Linked DNA regions of Homo sapiens: all the other regions are linked to region 3. Evidence: promoter capture Hi-C in 16 types of primary human blood cells and fetal thymus (Javierre and others, 2016). All regions are on one chromosome and are shown on one strand. Each heading gives the region's core, a stretch centred on a gene start or on the middle of the fragment in contact. The rest is flanking DNA. Distances are from core to core; before and after follow the strand shown. Region 1 has its middle 5.1 kb from the start of IFNAR2. Region 2 overlaps TMEM50B (transmembrane protein 50B). Region 3 holds the start of IFNAR1 (interferon alpha and beta receptor subunit 1).

What was found. The method cuts DNA at HindIII sites, captures the fragments that hold promoters and counts their contacts. A CHiCAGO score of 5 or more calls a contact.
Region 1: a contact is called between a fragment that was not itself captured here and the fragment with the promoter of IFNAR1 in region 3, in 4 of 17 cell types (total B cells, activated CD4 T cells, neutrophils and 1 more). The highest score is 6.1, in total B cells.
Region 2: a contact is called between a fragment that was not itself captured here and the fragment with the promoter of IFNAR1 in region 3, in 1 of 17 cell types (total B cells). The highest score is 6.5, in total B cells.

The regions. Positions count from the first base shown.
Region 1 is chr21:33,223,289-33,226,361 of GRCh38, reverse strand. No RefSeq gene overlaps it. Among named protein-coding and RNA genes, the nearest start is that of IFNAR2, 5.1 kb to the left of the region's middle. The HindIII fragment of the contact is 4,332 bases long and covers 1-3,073 here.
Region 2 is chr21:33,449,957-33,452,774 of GRCh38, reverse strand. It overlaps TMEM50B (transmembrane protein 50B), which reads left to right. Exons shown (of 7, transcript NM_006134.7): 7 at 1,912-2,818. The coding sequence ends at 1,957. Among named protein-coding and RNA genes, the nearest start is that of TMEM50B, 29 kb to the left of the region's middle. The HindIII fragment of the contact is 2,657 bases long and covers 135-2,791 here.
Region 3 is chr21:33,323,468-33,326,222 of GRCh38, reverse strand. It overlaps IFNAR1 (interferon alpha and beta receptor subunit 1), which reads right to left and starts at 1,253. Exons shown (of 11, transcript NM_000629.3): 1 at 1,092-1,253. The coding sequence starts at 1,167. RefSeq lists cis regulatory regions at 1,264, 1,321-1,330, 1,821, enhancers at 425-1,326, 1,560-1,609, 1,830-2,039, 1,327-2,229 and promoters at 1,242-1,912, 1,266-2,549. The HindIII fragment of the contact is 6,325 bases long and covers 334-2,755 here.

The DNA of each region.
Region 1 (3,073 bases), core at 215-2,714, 100 kb after region 3:
ACAACCAACAGAGTTTGAAGAGTTTCTGGGTTGGTTAACACATTAAAGTTCTGGGAGGTTGGTACACTTAGAGACGGCATGGAAGCTCAGTGCCCCTTTCTCCCATACCTTGTCCTAGGTATCTCTTCCACTTGGCTGTTCCTGAATTGTATCTTTTATATAAACCGGTAATAGTAAGTAAAGTGCTTTCCTGAGTTCTGTGAGTAGCTGTAGGGATTCTGTAGATGTTCTTTATCAGGTTGAGAATAATTGTCCAAATAATAATAGCAGCAACATATTGGTTGATTATAGCTTATGAATAAGTGAAATGTATAATAACAATGTTATAAGGGTTGAGAGGGAGAAATTGGGGATACTCTTTTCTAAGATACTTGTGTACTACCCATGAATTAGTGTATTGTTATTTGAAAATGGACTTAGATTAGTTATAATGTATATTGCAAACTCTAGGGCAGTCACTAAAGATTTGTTAAAAAGAAGTATAATTAATGTGATGGTTAATAGTGAGTTTCAACTTGATTGAATTGAAAGATGCAAAGTATTGTTCCTGGGTGTGTCTGTGAGGGTGTTGTCAAAGGAGATTAACATTTGAGTCAGTGGACTGGGAAAGGCAGACCCACCCTCAATCTGGGTGGGCACCATCTAATCAGCTGCCAGCATGGCCAGGATAAAAACAGGCAGAAGAAGGGGGAAAGGCTAGACTGGCTAAGTCTTCTGGCCTCCATCTTTCTCCCATGCTGGATGTTTCCTGCCCTCAAACATCAAATTCCAAGTTCTTCGGCTTTTAGACTCTTGGACTTCACTCCAGTGATCTGCCAGGGGCTCTCAGGCCTTTGGCCACAGACTGAAGGCTGCACTGTTGGCTTCCCTACTTTGAGCTTTTGGGACTTGGACTGGCTTTCCGGCTCCTCAACTTGCAGATGGCTGATCGTGGGACTTCACCTTGTGATCATGTGAATCAATTCTCCCAATAAACTCCCTTTCATATATACATCTGTCCTATTAGTTCTGTCCCTCTAGAGAATCCTGACTAATACAATTAATGTGCTAAGTGAGGGGAGAATGGAATCATATAAAATATTCAATTAAAACCAGAGAAGGGCTGGGCATGGTGGCTCACACCTGTAATCCCAGCACTTTGGGAGGCCGAGGGGGCGGATCACGAGGTCAGGAGATCAAGACCATCCTGGCTACCATGGTGAAACCCTGTCTCCACTAAACATACAAAAAATTAGCCAGGCGTGGTGGCAGGTGCCTGTAGTGCCAGCTACTCAGGAGGCTGAGGCAGGAGAATGGTGTGAACCCAGGAGGCAGAGCTTGTAGTGAGCCAAGATCGTGCCACTGCACTCCAGCCTGGGGACAGAGCCAGACTCCGTCTCAAAAGAAAAAAAAAAAACAAAAAAACAACAACAACAGAGAAGGCAGAAAAAGAGAAGGAAGAAAAACAATAACAGCAACAACAATAAACATAAAAAGAACAAGTGCATTGAATAGAAAACAGTTACAAATATGGGAGATATTAATCTAACTATCAATAGTATATTTAAGTGAATGGTCTAAGTGTACCAATTAAAAGACAGAGACTAATAGAGTGGATTTAAAAATAAATCAAGGGCCAACTATATATTGTCTACCAGAAACCCACTTTAAATATAGAGACACTGATAGATTACATTTTTAAAAATGCCAACCTGACCAACATAGTAAAACCAAAAAAACAAAAAACAAAAAAATTTTAGCTGGGTGTAGTGGCAGGTGCCTGTAGTCCTAGTTACTCAGGAGATTGAGGTGGGAGGATCACTTGAGCCCAGGAGTTCAAGGCTGTAGTGAGCTATGATTGTGCCACTGCACTCCAGGCTGGGCAACAGAGGCAGATCCAGTTTCAAAAAAAAAAGAAGAAAAATGGAGAAATATATGACATTCTAACATTAATCAAAAGAAAGCTGGAGTAGCTGTATTAATTTCAGGCAAGCAGATTTCGGAACAAAGAAAATTATCTGGGGTAAAAGACAATTATATAATGATAAGAAAGTCGGCTTTCCAAGAAAGCATAACAGTCCTTAGTGTATATGCACCCAACTCCAAAGTGTCTAAATATATGATGCAAAAATTAATAGAACTGCAAGGAGAAATAGACAAATCCATCATTACAGTTGGAGTTTTCAATATCTGTTTATCAGTAATTGACAGATTGAGCCAGCAGGGAGAGAATCAGTAAGGATATAGTTGAGATGACCAGCACCATCAATTAATTTGATCTAACTGGCATTTATAGAATATGTCATCTAACAGCAGCAGAATACCCATTCTCAAGTTCTTGTGAAACATTAATTAAAATAGACCACATTCTGGGCCATAAAACTCATGCTAACAAATTTGAAAGAATAGAAATCACACAAAATATACTATTAGATCTTATGGAATTAAACTTGAAATCAATAACAGATAGCTAGAAAAAGTCCCAAAATATTTGGAGATTAAACAATAAACTTGTAAATAACACATGGGTCAAAGAAGAAGACTTAGGAAGAATTGGAATATTTTAACTGAATAAAAATGAAAATAAAACATCAAAATTTGTGGAATAAAATGAAAGCAGTGCTTAGAGGAAAATGTATGGCATTAAATGAATACACAAGAAAAGAAGTGTAAACCAAAAAATATAGTTATAAGCAGCCCCTGCCCTCCCCCCAACCATCTGAATGGATCTGTCCTCTCTGCCAAGGGCATTCCAAAGTTAACCTGAAAAATTTGTTCAGGCCATGATGAAAGGTGGGGTCAGACATGCCTCATTATACCCTCTTCCCTTGTGGAATTCAGGAAAAGCTGACCAGCATTAATATCAACACAGACCTTAAGTCTGATAAGAAGCATTTACAATCTATCCTCTCTGAAGCCAGCTACTTGGAGGCTTCATCTGCGTGATAAAACCTTGGTGTCCACAATCCCTTACTGTAACCCAGACATTCTTTTCTATTGATAATAACAACAAATTGCCAATCAGAAAATATTTAAATCTACCTGTGACCTGGAAGCCTCACCCCACTTCGGATTAACCCACCCTTCCAGATCT
Region 2 (2,818 bases), core at 214-2,713, 130 kb before region 3:
TGGTGCTTTGCATACAATTTGTTGGGACTGGATCTTTGCTAGTCCTTTAAATGTTTTTAAGCTTTGTTTTGGGATGCAGTTAGGTGACTCAGAAACAATCAGAAACAATTTGATCCTTTTATGTCTCTTAAGCTTTGTTATAGGCAGGACCAGAGCAGCTGTAGCCCAGGACTGATTTGTCCCCCTACTAAGGCAGTCATACCCTTTGAGTGTTTCCACTCTCTGATGCTTCATGTATTCCGAGGTTTCTCTACTCGACTTGTGAGAGTATGAACTCTCTTCCAGCCTTGTGGTAGCTCTGGGACATGTTCTTTCCAGTGGTTCTTTCCTTCCCTTGGGTAGTTTCCTCTTATGTATAGACTCTTCAGTACTCAGCCACAGACTGAAGGAGCACCCCCTGCAGATCTCCTGCGTTCCCTCTGTGTGGCTGTCTGTACGCTGCATGGCAAACTCTAGCCATGTGGTCTCCCTCCACTCTCAGACCACCATGCTCTACCTGGATTTCGCCTTGTGGCCTTGACACTCCTGGTTTTGAAAGATGTTTGGCAGTTTCTGCTGTCTTATATGTCAAAGACATGTGACTGACAGCCTTCTGGGGATATGGTAAGTTGTTATGAAGACATTTTAGGCAGTCTTTAGAGATTAAGTTCAGATTCAACACTTTGTGGTGGTAGATGAATCCACTTAAATGACAATTGGATGAACAGAAACCTTGTATGCTCAGGTGGACATAGTTGACAGCTGTGTCATCTATGTGCTCTGCCCAGAGGCTGGCAAGTTATCAGGCAGCCTGTATGCTTCCTGTGTGCTGGACCTGTTCTAAGCTCTGGGGTACAACCTCTTTTATTTACATCTCTGGTCACTCCTCTGTTTTCCTTGCAAGCTGATCCTCCACTCCCTGCCTACTACCTTTTGAAGTCTCTTAAAGCTGTTCTTGGCCTTAAGAAACTCCTTGTTATTTTTCTGTCCCTGGGTGAACTCATGTGTACTTAGGACTCCAATTATTGCTTATATGCCAGTGAGTCACAGATGTCCCTTTCCAGGCCTAAACCGTATATCCAGATTCCTACTTCACATCCCTTCTTGGGTTGCTGACATTTCAAATCCAAAACATTTAGTATGCCCACAGCTCAACTCATGGCCCTGGAGTGTCCCATCTCTCTGCTCCCGCCTCCTTATCCTCTCTCACTTTGCCGAGATAATTCCCCCTCTTCTTTTGGATCTCAATTCAGTCACCACTCCTCAGGAAAACCTTTCCTGACCTCTCTAACTAGGTCTGATCCTTATGTTTCACTCTGAGGATACTGTGCACCTCTCATTTATAGCATTTTTTTATAGGTGGAATTTTATATTTATTTGATTGTCTCCTTATTAGACCCTTAGCTCCATTAGGGAGCAAGTTTGTCTGGACTCAGTCTCACCCCAGCACTTAGGTGCTTGGTACGTAGCCACTTTTCAGTGCACAATAATTATTTGTTGAAGGAATGAAGAATTGCAGCATGGTCTGTTGTAGGGTGCTTCAGTTACTGTAATTTAGATATGGTAGGCTCCTGGAGACATAAAATGGCCCTAATGCCTGTCACTATGAGAATGGTCTCTCTCCCTTTTTCTTTTGATTTATTGATTCATTTTTTTGTTTCTGAGTCATAGAGAAATGTCTCTTTTCCTTACAAGTTGCCTGTTAATAACTTCCCAGGCCTTAAGAAAGAATACAGTTATGCTTAGCCATCGTAGTTAACAGACTGCTTTACAAAATAAGCAAATTAAGACCAACACTGCCATGATGTCTAATTTAATTTTTAAAATTGATAGGAATCAGTGAAGTACCTGTCAAAGCATATTGAGAAAATGAATTCTGTGTTGCTTGTTCCATCGGTTTTTTCCTCATGATTTGTTTTCCTATCTTTCTAGCACTCTGATCTACAAATTTGGAAGAACCGAAGAGCTATGGACCTGAGATCACTTCTTAAGTCACATTTTCCTTTTGTTATATTCTGTTTGTAGATAGGTTTTTTATCTCTCAGTACACATTGCCAAATGGAGTAGATTGTACATTAAATGTTTTGTTTCTTTACATTTTTATGTTCTGAGTTTTGAAATAGTTTTATGAAATTTCTTTATTTTTCATTGCATAGACTGTTAATATGTATATAATACAAGACTATATGAATTGGATAATGAGTATCAGTTTTTTATTCCTGAGATTTAGAACTTGATCTACTCCCTGAGCCAGGGTTACATCATCTTGTCATTTTAGAAGTAACCACTCTTGTCTCTCTGGCTGGGCACGGTGGCTCATGCCTGTAATCCCAGCACTTTGGGAGGCCGAGGCGGGCCGATTGCTTGAGGTCAAGTGTTTGAGACCAGCCTGGCCAACATGGCGAAACCCCATCTACTAAAAATACAAAAATTAGCCAGGCATGGTGGTGGGTGCCTGTAATCCCAACTACCTAGGAGGCTGAGGCAGGAGAATCGCTTGAACCCGGGGGGCAGAGGTTGTAGTGAGCTGAGTTTGCGCCACTGCACTCTAGCCTGGGGGAGAAAGTGAAACTCCCTCTCAAAAAAAAGAAGGACCACTCTCAGTATCTGATTTCTGAAGATGTACAAAAAAATATAGCTTCATATATCTAGAATGAGCACTGAGCCATAAAAGGTTTTCAGCAAGTTGTAACTTATTTTGGCCTAAAAATGAGGTTTTTTTGGTAAAGAAAAAATATTTGTTCTTATGTATTGAAGAAGTGTACTTTTATATAATGATTTTTTAAATGCCCAAAGGACTAGTTTGAAAGCTTCTTTTAAAAAGAATTCCTCTAATATG
Region 3 (2,755 bases), core at 4-2,503:
AAAAAAAAAAGTATAAATAAAAATGTCTTCCCATATTTTGGACAGTTTTCTTAGTCTTGGGTCCTAGAATTGCATTTACTAGTTTAAAAAGTATGACTATTTTTATGACTTCTGAAAGACTGAGCAACATTACAATCTCATTGAGATAACATTTCATTGAGTTTTGAACATGATTATTTCTTTGGGAAAAAAGTAGGTAGTTAAGTAAACCAAAAATAAAATTCTAAGCCCCCCAACAATGTGAATGGACCTCTCCTCTCAACAAATGGCATTCCAAAGTTAATCTGAAAAACTAGTTCAGGCCTTCCACACTGACCATGTCAATTACAAGCTTATCTTCTCAGGTGCAAAACAAAGTCAAGACTCCATCTACCCAGAGGCATCTGCATAACTGACTCCCTTTACTCTCTTTTTCTCTTCAAGACACTCATGGTATCTTAAAATACAGATTTCTTGGGCACTAACTAAATTCTCACAGAACTATTTGCCTTACTGCCTTCCTGCCCCACCTCCTGAAAACCTCTGGAAAACCAGTCACAGACGTGTTTGTGGCTCACGTTTTTCCCGGATGCGCCCTGAAGCAGGCTTAGTAAACCTCGAGAACTGACAATTATGCTTCAGTCACTCCGACTGTCATTTTTTATTGGCCTGTATGAATCCTGAGGGCAGAGAAATCCTGGCCACACTTAGCTCACTCCCCCGTGGGACTGGGCGCCTATTCACCAGATTGAGGAAATGCATTTCGGGAAATGTTTTGTTTATTATCAAACAGACCAGCGGAGCCGCGGTACTTTCCCGGAAAGAATCAAACTCGACACAAAGCTCTGGCACCGCCATTTCACGGGGGTGGGACCCGGGCGCTCCCGAGGACCCGTACACGGCCACAGGCAAGCGGCAAGAGAGGACCCAGAACACCACTTTCTCCTGGTTGATTTGCGAGCCCAGGTCGGGTTTAATCTTTGGCGCGGCAAAGTGGACCGAAGGTTTCCCAGACTGGGCGTCTGTCGCCCCCAACAGCATCGCCGCCCCCGTAGCCCAGCTGCGTGCCCTACCTCCCGCCCTGCGCCAAGACTCTCCTCCCCGCCTCTCACCTGCGGCTGCGGACAACACCCATGGCGCCACGGCGACGAGCACTAGGGTCGTCGCGCCCAGGAGGACGACCATCATCTGGGAGCCGCCGCAGATCCCACCAGTTACATGTTCGCGCACGCGCAGCTCCTCTCAGCCGCCATCGCCCCGTCCTAAGTCACACCGCCCCTCTGCACACGCGCTGCCCCTCTTAGCTCTCACCGCCCCTCTACGCACGCGCCGCCTCTTCTGACACACACACCGCCCCTCCGCGCACGCGCCGTTCCTCCACGCACGCGCCTTTCCTCCTAGCTAGCACCCCTTCTCCAAGCTCCCATTGCCCCATCCTAATTGCAGCACCCCTGTGCGCGCGCGCCTTAGAAATCGCAGGCCTCCTGCATTCTCTTCTTCCTCACTCTTTCCGGCCTATGGCCGGTCTGGAGCACTTCACCATCGCATTCCAGGACGACTCCCCCTCACAGGAGGCCTTGACCTTCACAGGATCGCGGCACACACCTGCGCAGACCCAGCGACTTTGGAGTTCCCGCGTCTCTTCCCCATGTCTGCAGTCGGAGGGCGCGGGTGGGCTCCTGGTCGCGGCCCGGCGCTCTTCGTCCTCGCCCTTCTCCGCCCGGGGCGCTTGCTGACCCTAGAGTCTTGGACAGTGGCGTTGGGAGTCCCCAGCGGCCTGGGAACCAGATGAGGCTGGAAGGAGGAAGTGGCTGAGCGACCAGACCGTTGCTGTGTGCAGAGCGAGAGCGGGGCAGAGGCGGTCGAGCGCTCGTTTTCCGGGCGACTTGGCTGAGGGGCGAGATGGTCCCTTGGAGAGAACAGCCACGGGCCCTGGGCCGAGGGGCTCCAAACAGCAGTCGCTAGGCTGTTTTGGTCGTCGGGCTTTATCAGTAAACAATTCGAGCCCATGGTTCGAATGATTATTTAATTAAATTCCTCAGTAATAGATCCAGTGCATTGTGAAAATATGCGAAATAAAATTTAAATGATGAGATAAAATAAGGAATCAAATACTTCGTTGTTATAACAACCAAGCAATTAATTAGCAATTACATAATTAAATGAATGTTTGTAAAGAACAATGCAATGGAATATATATGTATTCCATCTATATATTCCATCTCTATATTCCATCTATATATTCCATCTCTATATCCCATCACTATATTCCATCTCTATATCCCATCTCTATATTCCATCTCTATATCCCATCTCTATATTCCATCTCTATATCCCATCTCTATATCCCATCTCTATATTCCATCTCTATATTCCATATCTATTCCATCTCTATATTCCATATCTATTCCATCTCTATATTCCATATCTATTCCATCTCTATATCCCATCTCTATATTCCATCACTATATCCCATCTCTATATCCCATCTCTATATCCCATCTCTATATCCCATCTCTATATCCCATCTCTATATCCCATCTCTATATTCCATCTCTATATTCCATCTCTATTCCATCTCTATATTCCATATCTATTCCATCTCTATATTCCATATCTATTCCATCTCTATATTCCATCTCTATATTCCATCTCTATATGCCATCTCTATATGCCATATATATTCCATCTCTATATGCCATATATATTCCATCTCTATATGCCATATATATTCCATCTCTATATTCCATCTCTATATGCCATCTCTATATGCCAT